3 separate regions of the Homo sapiens genome follow, and regions 1 and 3 are each linked to region 2. The links are contacts of gene promoters, found by promoter capture Hi-C in blood cells and fetal thymus (Javierre and others, 2016). All regions are on one chromosome and are shown on one strand. Each heading gives the region's core, a stretch centred on a gene start or on the middle of the fragment in contact. The rest is flanking DNA. Distances are from core to core; before and after follow the strand shown. Region 1 overlaps F3 (coagulation factor III, tissue factor). Region 2 holds the start of SLC44A3 (solute carrier family 44 member 3). Region 3 holds the start of LOC105378861 (a long non-coding RNA gene).

Evidence for each region. The method cuts DNA at HindIII sites, captures the fragments that hold promoters and counts their contacts. A CHiCAGO score of 5 or more calls a contact.
Region 1: a fragment that was not itself captured here is called in contact with the fragment with the promoter of SLC44A3 in region 2 in 8 of 17 cell types (monocytes, endothelial precursors, M1 macrophages and 5 more); the score reaches 12.8 in monocytes.
Region 3: a contact is called between a fragment that was not itself captured here and the fragment with the promoter of SLC44A3 in region 2, in 1 of 17 cell types (monocytes). The highest score is 5.0, in monocytes.

What each region holds. Positions count from the first base shown.
Region 1 is chr1:94,532,081-94,535,445 of GRCh38, forward strand. It overlaps F3 (coagulation factor III, tissue factor), which reads right to left. Exons shown (of 6, transcript NM_001993.5): 4 at 1,010-1,188; 5 at 241-400. Among named protein-coding and RNA genes, the nearest start is that of F3, 8.0 kb to the right of the region's middle. The HindIII fragment of the contact is 8,136 bases long and covers 1-3,365 here.
Region 2 is chr1:94,818,725-94,821,809 of GRCh38, forward strand. It overlaps SLC44A3 (solute carrier family 44 member 3), which reads left to right and starts at 1,633. Exons shown (of 15, transcript NM_001114106.3): 1 at 1,633-1,754; 2 at 2,225-2,332. The coding sequence starts at 1,728. SLC44A3-AS1 (SLC44A3 antisense RNA 1) reads right to left here and starts at 1,508. Exons shown (of 6, transcript NR_160780.1): 1 at 1,232-1,508. RefSeq lists a silencer at 1,637-1,826. The HindIII fragment of the contact is 9,215 bases long and covers 1-2,679 here.
Region 3 is chr1:94,560,162-94,563,313 of GRCh38, forward strand. LOC105378861 (a long non-coding RNA gene) reads left to right here and starts at 2,942. Exons shown (of 3, transcript XR_001738160.3): 1 at 2,942-3,152. The HindIII fragment of the contact is 2,347 bases long and covers 207-2,553 here.

The DNA of each region.
Region 1 (3,365 bases), core at 835-3,334, 290 kb before region 2:
ACACCTGCTAATACAAGGGCACAATCAACACAGAAACATTTCTAAATGTCCAAAATCTTTTTTGTACCAAAGCAAAATCAAAACCAAAACAAACAAATAACAACAAAAAACCTCCAGGCAGTTTGTTTTCCTGAATATTTAACCAAGGAAGTATATCCCAGCCCTGAGGGTGGAGCTACTCCTCCAGAAGTCACCCACAGCACCCATACCCCCAGGCAAATGGCTGGCAGAGCCACTCACCTCTGAATTCCCCTTTCTCCTGGCCCATACACTCTACCGGGCTGTCTGTACTCTTCCGGTTAACTGTTCGGGAGGGAATCACTGCTTGAACACTGAAACAGTAGTTTTCTCCTTTATCCACATCAATCAAAAACTCATTAGTGTTTGTTTTGGCTGTTTTCTGTAAAAAGATAGAGTTCTTAATTCATCTGGGCTCTGAGTCAATTCTTTCCCCTTTATTAAGTCACTGTGGAAGTAAAAACCTAGGTTCTAAGCAAAGCCTACAAGAACACAGCTGACACGTGAAGGATTAGAAGTGACTTCGCTAATCAGTTTCCCTTGATCACTGCTAAAAATGCCTTTTCCAAGACTGAGAAGATCCAATTTAGGCATATTGAACCCTATTGAGCCCCTTTAGAAGATATCTGCAGTAAAAGAAAAAGGAAGGGAGTATTATGCATTGAACCAAAAACAAATTTTGTGCCTGGGATCCTCAATAGAGGGAGAAATGTGAGCATGGCGGGACCTTTAGAGATGACCTGATCCAGCCGGTTGGCTGAGGAACCTGGGTCTCCGAGGGGGCCCTGCCCAGAGTCACAGGGTAGTGCAGAGTCACAGGTAGGACCAGGCCTGTTGTCCACCCCTCCCCACAGTGCGCGCTCCCCCTTCTACTCCATCACCTTCTCAACAACTCTGTTCTGCTATTTTTGAATTGGGGAAGAAATGGGTTGTAAAACCCAAGTATTCACAATTTAAAACAGGTCATAAAAACAAATTAAAAAATGCTCACCTTTCCTGAACTTGAAGATTTCCAATAATAAAGTGTATAAATTAAGTCCTTGCCAAAAACATCCCGGAGGCTTAGGAAAGTGTTGTTCCTTCTGACTAAAGTCCGTTCATCTTCTACGGTCACATTCACTTTTGTTCCCACCTGTTCAAAACTCTGAATTGTTGGCTGTCCGAGGTTTGCTGAAACAAAGGAAATGAGCTTGGTTGGAACCAAAGAATTCTGTACAAAGTCAAATCCTGTTTTGTTATCACAATTGACAACTTAATTATCTCTCATATAAAACATGTGCATAGAACCAGCTCCCTGAAAGAAGCAGGCGTGGCGGCCTGGAGCTGAATCCTAAGACATTCTGTGGTAGTGCTGGCCCAAGGGGAAGACAATGGAGCCTCAGATGTCATTTTAAGTTTTCTAGTAGTCACATTAGAAAAAGTAAAAAGGAACAGGTGAAATTAATTTTAATAATATATTTTATTTAACCAAAGACAGTTGACCCCTGAACAACATGGGTTTGAACTCTGTGGATCCACTTGTATGCAAATTTTTTTAAATAAAAGTTACACCAAGTGTGCCGCCTCCTACTTCCTCCATCTTTTCTCCTGCCGTGGCCCCTGCTCTTCCTCCTCCTCCTCCTCCTCAGCCTACTCAACATGAAGATGACGAGGATGAACACCTTTATGATGATCCACTTCCACTTTATCAATAGTAAATATATTTTCTCTTCCTTATAATTCTTTCTCTTCCTTCCTTCTTTCTTTTCTTTTCTTTTCTTTTTTTTCTTTCTTTCCCTTTCTTTTTTAGACAGAGTCTCGCTCTGTCACCCAGGCCGGAGTGCAGTGGCGCAATCTCAGTTCACTGCAACCTCCTCCACCTGGGTTGAAGTGATTCTCCTGCCTCAGCCTCCCAAGTAGCTGGGATTACAGGCACCCACAACCACGCCTGGCTAATTTTTGTATTTTTAGTAGAGATGGGGTTTCACCATGTTGGCCAGGCTGGTCTTGAACTCCTGACCTCAAGTGATCCACCCGCCTTAGCATCCCAAAGTTCTGAGATTACAGGCACGAGCCACCATGCCCAGCCTCTTTTCCTTATAATTTTCTTAATAACATTTTCTTTCCTCTAGCTTACTTTATTGTAAGAATACAGTATATAATACACGCAACATGAAAAATGTGTGTTAATTGACTGTTTATCTTATTGGTAAGGCTGCAGTCAACAGTCAACCGATAGGTAGGCTATTAGTAGTTAAGTTTTTGGGGAGTCAAGTTATACTCGGATTTTCAACTGCACAGGGAGTCGGTGCCTCTCAGCCATGCATTGCTTGAGTCAACTGCATATATCTGGAATATAATCATTTTAATGTGTAATCAATATAAAAAAGTTTTGAGATATTCTACACTTCTTAAATTCCAGTGTGTACTTTATACTTAGAGCATTAGCCATATTTCAAGTGGTCAACAGCCACATGTGGCTAGTGGCTACTATACTGAACAGGGTGGTAGCATAAACTACGATATTTTAGGTTCAAAAATATGTAGGGCTGTGAGAAAGCCCAGGAAATGTCCTTGGTACCTCGAGAAGCCGGATTTAACCACGGGGTCTCTGCAATGGCTCAATTATCTCATGTGCTTTGGTTAAATGACAGGAAAACAAACATCAATTCACAGGCCAAATATGTGTGTGCACATGCAAAACAAACACATAAAATATCTTCTATCTTGCACCAACAAAGGATTTGAAGTAGCTTACAAAAAAACTCAAGAACTATTAATATAAAAGAGAATCATGAGGATGCCATTAATTAGGGGGGAAATGAATGTCAACCATGCCACAGTCACCAGAGGGGCTGCTGACGCTGCTACATTCTTGCCTGGTGCCACAAAAGACACAAGCAGAAGCACCTGGGGGTCTGGAGGGTCTTGCAAATGGGGGCTCTGGGAAGGCAGCCACATTCACCTGGGGTCAGGCCCCCTATTTCAACCCTCAAAGTAGATACCAGAGGAGGATGGTTGGTTGGTTGTCCGTCCACCCCTTCTTTTCACCATTCCTACCTTGAGAAACTGTTCTCTCTCGCTGGGCCTAACACTCACACAACACCTTCATTCTAACCAGCTGGCCTTACAAGAGAAGCTAATTTCACTCTACTCAATGTGCTACATGCATTTATCTAAATTGCCTAGCTCAGAGCCACAGTTGCGGCAAAAGAATAAATCTCCTACTTGACAGGAATTCTCTTCATTCTTTTACTGGCTCCTAGGGCCAGCTTACAGGGGCAAAGGCTGAGGAGGAAAGTATTCCACCTTTCCAAAACCAGAACGAGGGTGACAGGCAGATGGCTGGGCAGGTGCTGGCACATCAC
Region 2 (3,085 bases), core at 383-2,882:
ATTAATACATTCTCACATTCTAATGACAATATGGCTTAATAGAAAATAAGTTCAAAGTTATGCTTTTAAATACTTACATATAGAAACATTTTGCTTGAGATAAACCTTTTCAATCTGAAGGTTTTTTTCTACCTTGAAATTTATCTCCATTATATCTTCAAATATTTCCCCTTCTCTGTTTTTATATTTCTTCCTTTCTGTTCTAGTTTTACCCTAGATATAAGCTAGAAAATTTACAAATAAGCTAACTTGTTTTTTAAAACATTTTCTACTGCCTCTGGAGGTTTGCTGAAAGTGCTCTTCCAATTACTAATTCATCGTCAGCTGCATCTTTTAGACTATTGCACATTACTAATACGTAGCATCAATATTCATTCTAATTATTATTTTTATGCTTAATATGTTTTAGTTTCATATTTTTTCCTGATTCATATTGCTAATATCATAACTCATTTTAAATAAATTTATCATGCTTATTTAAAAATCTTGGTCCATCTGCTCTACTGATCAGTTTCAGATGGCATATGTTATTCAGTTGTGGTCTTTTAACAGTAGTTGCACTCCTCCAGTGTCTAATTCTTTGTCCTATGAATTCATGTTCCCCTGGGGTTTCACCTACTCTGTCTGATAAACATGCATCCAGGAAGGCCCAGTGAGTTTGCAGTGGGAGGGTGGTGTGAGCCCAGAAGGAAATCGCTGGCACCAGAGAACCACTGTCTATCATTCCCAGTTTCTCCCACTTACCCAGATCTTTCCTCCAGTCAGGTTTCTACCCTTAGGGAGAAGCAGCACCTAAAGGAAGCAATTAACCTAGCAACCCTAAGGGTGGCAGGGGGAAGGGTAGAGGCTTGATTGAGAGGAGGTGGGGGGAGGTCGGCCTGCAGTTTTTTTTGTTTTTCGTTTTTTAAATTCCTCACCCCAACAGTGCTTTTGCGCTGGTCTGACACTACCTGGAAAACTATGCCACCAGTCGCTTCAGTGGACACTACCATTTCAATTGCGAAGTCAGGCAATGATTGTCCTAAGGCAAGGTGGGAGAGAAGTCAGAGTAAACCACCTCGAGAGCGCCGGTCTCCCGGAGTGTCTGGGTTCGACTCCTGCCTCCACAACTTACTGGGTCTCCTCGAACAAGTTGCATCACCAATGGCCGTGCCTCAGTTTCCCTCCTCCGTAGATTAGGAATAACAATAGCAGTGAGAACAGAATCCAGCACACAGTAAATGCTGCTTACCTGTTTGCTATGTGGAATACGCCACTACACTGTTGCTCGGCCCTCAGGAAGGGTCTGCTGAGACTTTCTACTTCCTGCTCAGGGCAGAGGCCGACCACCCGCCCAAGGTCGTGGCGGCGCCGGCTCAGCTTTAGTCGTCAAAGTGCACATCCTGGGAGCCGCTGCCTCGAGGTGGTTGAGGCGAGAGGGCAGGGAAGCGTCTGAGCCTCTTCCTCCCACCAGAGCAGGACCCCAGCTGACAGCGGGTGAGCTGGGCAGAAACCCATGCCGGGAAGAGGCGGACCCAGTGGACCGCAGCGCCCGCAGTCGCCGGGCCAGGCGCAGAGGCGAACGGGAGGCGGCGCTGCACCGTGCCCGCCCCTCCCCGGCCCGGCCCCGGCTCCAGCCCCAGCCCCAGCCCCAGCCCCGGCCCCGGCCCCGGCTCGCGGGCGCTGCGTCTCCGCGTACAGGAGGCGGCGGCGGCTCCCAGTCACCGGCCCCCGCCGGCGAGCGCACGATGCACTGCCTGGGCGCCGAGTACCTGGTAAGCGCTCGCAGCCTCGGCCCTCGGGGGAGGAGCCCCGGGGAAGGGTCGAGTCCCCCGCCTTCACGCACCTTCCCTGCCGGACGCTTCCGCCTTTCCCGCGCCTCGGGGATCCCGCCCCCGCTTAGTACCTTGGGGCCACCTGGCGGGGAGGAACCTGGACCCTGCTCCAGTGCTGGGGCGGAGGCGGGGGAGACGCGGGCCGCGGGGCGCAAACTTGGGGTCGTCCTCAGGTGCACCTCCAGGTAAGCACTTGGCGGCAGGGGGCTTAACATCCGCTCCGCGCAGAGCAGGTGTTTCAAAGGCTGTGTGAAAGAGCTTCAGGTGGCCACGTAAAAAAATAATATTAATTTTAAAAATTTAGAAAAAGATTGGTTACTTTGGCCCCTCTTCGAGTAGATTTGGGTTCGGTTTCCAGGTTGAGTCCACCTGTTTATCTTCTTTTTCTCAACTCTCCCTTTTTCTGGAAGGTTTCTGCAGAAGGAGCCCCTAGGCAAAGGGAGTGGCGACCCCAGATTTATAGGAAATGCACAGATACGGCATGGTTATTCCTGTTCTTTCTCTTTTGGACTGGTTTGGTAAGTGTGGGTGCTTGGTAGGAAAGAGGCCAGAGTGTGTGTGCACGTCTGGAAATAACTCTGTCCCAAATGTAAATCGTAGTTGGTGCTGCAGTGAGAGACTTCTGCCGTTAACCCACAATAAACATCAGTTTGTACTCGGGAGAATTCTTGTCCTAGACTCGCTAGAAAGGCTGTCTTTTTGCTACAGGCCATGTTCTAAGGGGTGACTCCATTAGGAAATGGGAATTAACAGTTTGCAATGTGATTGCTATTTAGTAAGGCCAATGTGTCTCCTTTTACTCTCCGAACTTACTGAACAGAAGTTCTTTTAGCACCTGCCACACCCCCAAATCAAATATTCCTCAAGCTTTTGGTGCACCTTTAACAAAGGAAAAGCCAGGGTAAGCCTAGAAATAAACTGCATTTCCTTTAGCTGAACATCACACACACACGCGCGCGAGAGATATGTTGTGTTTAGCAGCCAACACTGTTAACCATAGCTAACAAGGAATGATTTTTCCCACTCTAATTTCGAGGTATGTATGATTGCTGGTAAACTCCATCAGGCTATGCGGTTATAATCCTGAGAGAGTCTGTTGGAAGCCGAATCTTGCTGCTTTTATACTTATTTTAGAATTGTAGGTAACAGCAGAAAACGTCTCACCCGACATTTTCAAAGGCCACTTTCACGAAATCATCCATGCCAGGATAAGGCATGCTATTTGCTGCATGGTAAATGATTAATTTATAGAGCAGGGTAATAACTACCAG
Region 3 (3,152 bases), core at 130-2,629, 260 kb before region 2:
TGTCTTTCTGGAAAGCCATTGTTCTCATGTCAACTCTTGAGAAATGTGTCTCTAAGATTTCAGCCAGGAAACTTATGAAGCCCATGCTCTTAACCTGTGGGGCAGAAGATCCCAGGTCAGGGGCTCCTTCAAGGACAGGGCCAGCATGGAAAAGCCGCTGTTACTATTTTCAAGACAACAGGGCCACTGAGAAATGTTTAGAACAAAGCTTTGGTGATGCAGAATCATTCACACTTTCAGCACATTACATTAATCAAAGGAAACTCAATTATATTAGCTATGCTTTGTACCACTTTGTTTATTAAAACCAGGACATGAGCAATGCATTTTAGAAATTTTTTCAGTAAGTCTTGAAATAACAAAGGATTTCTTTGTATAACTCAGTTTGGAATACCAGTGCTGTCCAACAGAGATATGTGAGCCACATATGCGACTTAAATTTTTTAGTAGCCATATTTAAAAAAATAGAAACAGGTGAAATGAGTTTTGAGCTTGTTTTACTGATCCCAATATATCCCAAGCATTATCATTTCAATATGTAATCAGTATAAAAATTATTAATGAGATATTTTACATTCTGGTTTTTGTTTTTACTTTTTTGTGGAGGGGATACTAAGTCAAAATTCAATGTATCTTTTTTTTTTTTTTTTTTTTGAGATGGAGTCTTGCTCTGTCACTCAGGCTGGAGTGCAGTGGCGCGATCTCGGCTCACTGCGAGCTCCACCTCCCGAGTTCACGCCATTCTTCCGCCTCAGCCTCCCGAGTAGCTGGGACTACAGACGCCTGTCACCACGCCTGACTAATTTTGTTTTGTATTTTTAGTAGACGGGGTTTCACTGTGTTAGCCAGGATGGTCTCGATCTCCTGACCTCGTGATCCACCCGCCTCGGCCTCCCAAAGTGCTGGGATTATAGGCGTGAGCCACCGCGCCCAGCCCAGTGTATCATTTTTAAAGAGCGTCTCAATTAGAACTAGCTGTGCTTCAAGTTCTCAGTAGCCACAGGTAGCTAGTGGGTGGCTACTATATAGAAAGAAGAGTGTAATCCTAAGCCTTTTGTATACCACGGACTTTCTGCACTTTTGAATTCTAACGCAAGGAACTCATCATTAACTCAACTTGACCTGAGGTTCTCAGTATGGATGGCAAAGCTCATGTTAATGTGCTAATCATCTGCCACACTAGTCTCCTTCCTGGGCTATTCCTGCTTCCACTATATTTTGTATACACAATTAGGATGATCCCTATAAAGCTGAAGTTAGATACCATCACTTCTCTGCTCAAAACTTTTCCGTGGCTTTACATCCCAGTCATTACCATGGCTTACAAGGCTCCACACAGTCTGATCCCTGCCTACAGCGTTGGTCTCACTTCCTACAATTCTCTCCCTCGCTTGCTCCACTTACTCATCTCAGCCACATGGGATTGTTGCTGCTCTTTGACTGTGCCAAGCACACTCGTGCCCCATTCGCTTCTCCCCTTGTGCTAGAGCTCTTTCCCCAACATCTTCCCATGGTTTACCTTGAACTTCCTGCACAATGTCATTCCTCAGAGAGGCCTTCCTGGAGTACTCTATATAAAATAGCCCTCAAAGAGGGCTTCTCTTAAGGCCCCTTCTCATGACCCTATAGTTTCATCCTCTTCTTACCCACTTTATTGCTTTTCATAGCACTTGTTTGTTAGCTAGTTTATTTTCTACCTCCCTCAGCCCCACACCACACAAGGTGAGCTCCATGAAAGGAGGGACTTCCTCTGTTTCATTCGGAGGCACTGGGGACCCAGCAATAGAATCTGGAACACAGTAGGTGCTCAACAAATATTGGTAAGTGAAAGAATAAAGGAATGAATCCAATTTTGGTGAGAGATGCTTCTGAGTATTATGGGTTCCCACAACAATAATAGATTTATATCTAAGGTCCTTATTTGAGCTTAGTTCTCAAACCAAGCAACTGTTTTCCCAGTGGTAAATACTCCCCTGAACAGAAACGCAATGGCCATGCATTCATCCAGGTCATTCAGCTCTGCTTGGTGTCTCGCTTCCTGATCCCCTTATTGCACTTCTTATTAGTGCAGCCATTATCTCACCTTTTGCAGGCCAGATCAGACATGCTTTGTTTTATTTGATGAATTGTAAATCGATAGTCATCTCACACAGCAGTTCCCAACCTTTTTGGCACCAGGGACTGGTTTCATGTGAGACAACTTTTCCACAGACTGGGGTTGGTGGGGCGATCTTTTCGGGATGATTCGAGTGCATTGGGTTTATTGTGCACTTTATTTCTATTATTATTACATTATAATATATAATGAAATAATTATACAACTCACCATAATGTAGCATCAGTGGGACCCCAGTCCCACCTGGGGGTGACGGGAGACAGTGACAGATCATCAGGCATTAGACTCTCATAAGGAGCGGGCAACCTAGATCCTGCACGTGCACAGTTCACAACAGAGTTTGCACTCCATGAGATTCTAATGTGACAGCTGATCTGACAGGAGTCGGAGCTCATGCAGTAATGCAATTGAAGGGGAGTGGCTGTAAACACAGAAGAAGCTTTGTTCGCTCGCCCACCACTCTCCTCCTACTGTGTAGCCCAGTTCCTAACAGGCCATGGACTGGTATCAGTTGATGGCCCAGTGGTGGGGGATCCCTGTTCTAACTAATCCTACACGTGTTGCTTTGCTCATGGCTCCTGCTTACAGCACCTCGAGTTGCTTAAAACTAGATAAACAATCTCTGTTAAGGAAGTCCAGCCTTCCTTGTGACTATCCGGTTGTCCTTCTCTTTAATAGTATGCACACATTCCCTTCAGAAACTCAGGGAGGATCCCTGGCATTTGTGTTTGGGCATTGGAATTCACACTAATTTCCCTGTCCAGGTTGGGTGCTCACAGCCATGAGGAGTGGCTAAGTAAACATCTGCTCTCGGCAGGGCCCTCTGAGATCAGGCACAGCCATCAACAGTGGCTGCATGCCTCTCATGCTTCTGAGTTACGTTTGTCCTGCTTCTGAGAAGATCAGCCACTTCAGAATGAACCAATTAATACAATCGCTAGGTGCCCTCCTGTAGTACCTCTGTGAGGTTTGAAGGACTTGCCCTGATGAACCTCCACTTCCCTGTAATTCCCTATAAGATCTGCAGCACAAAGCT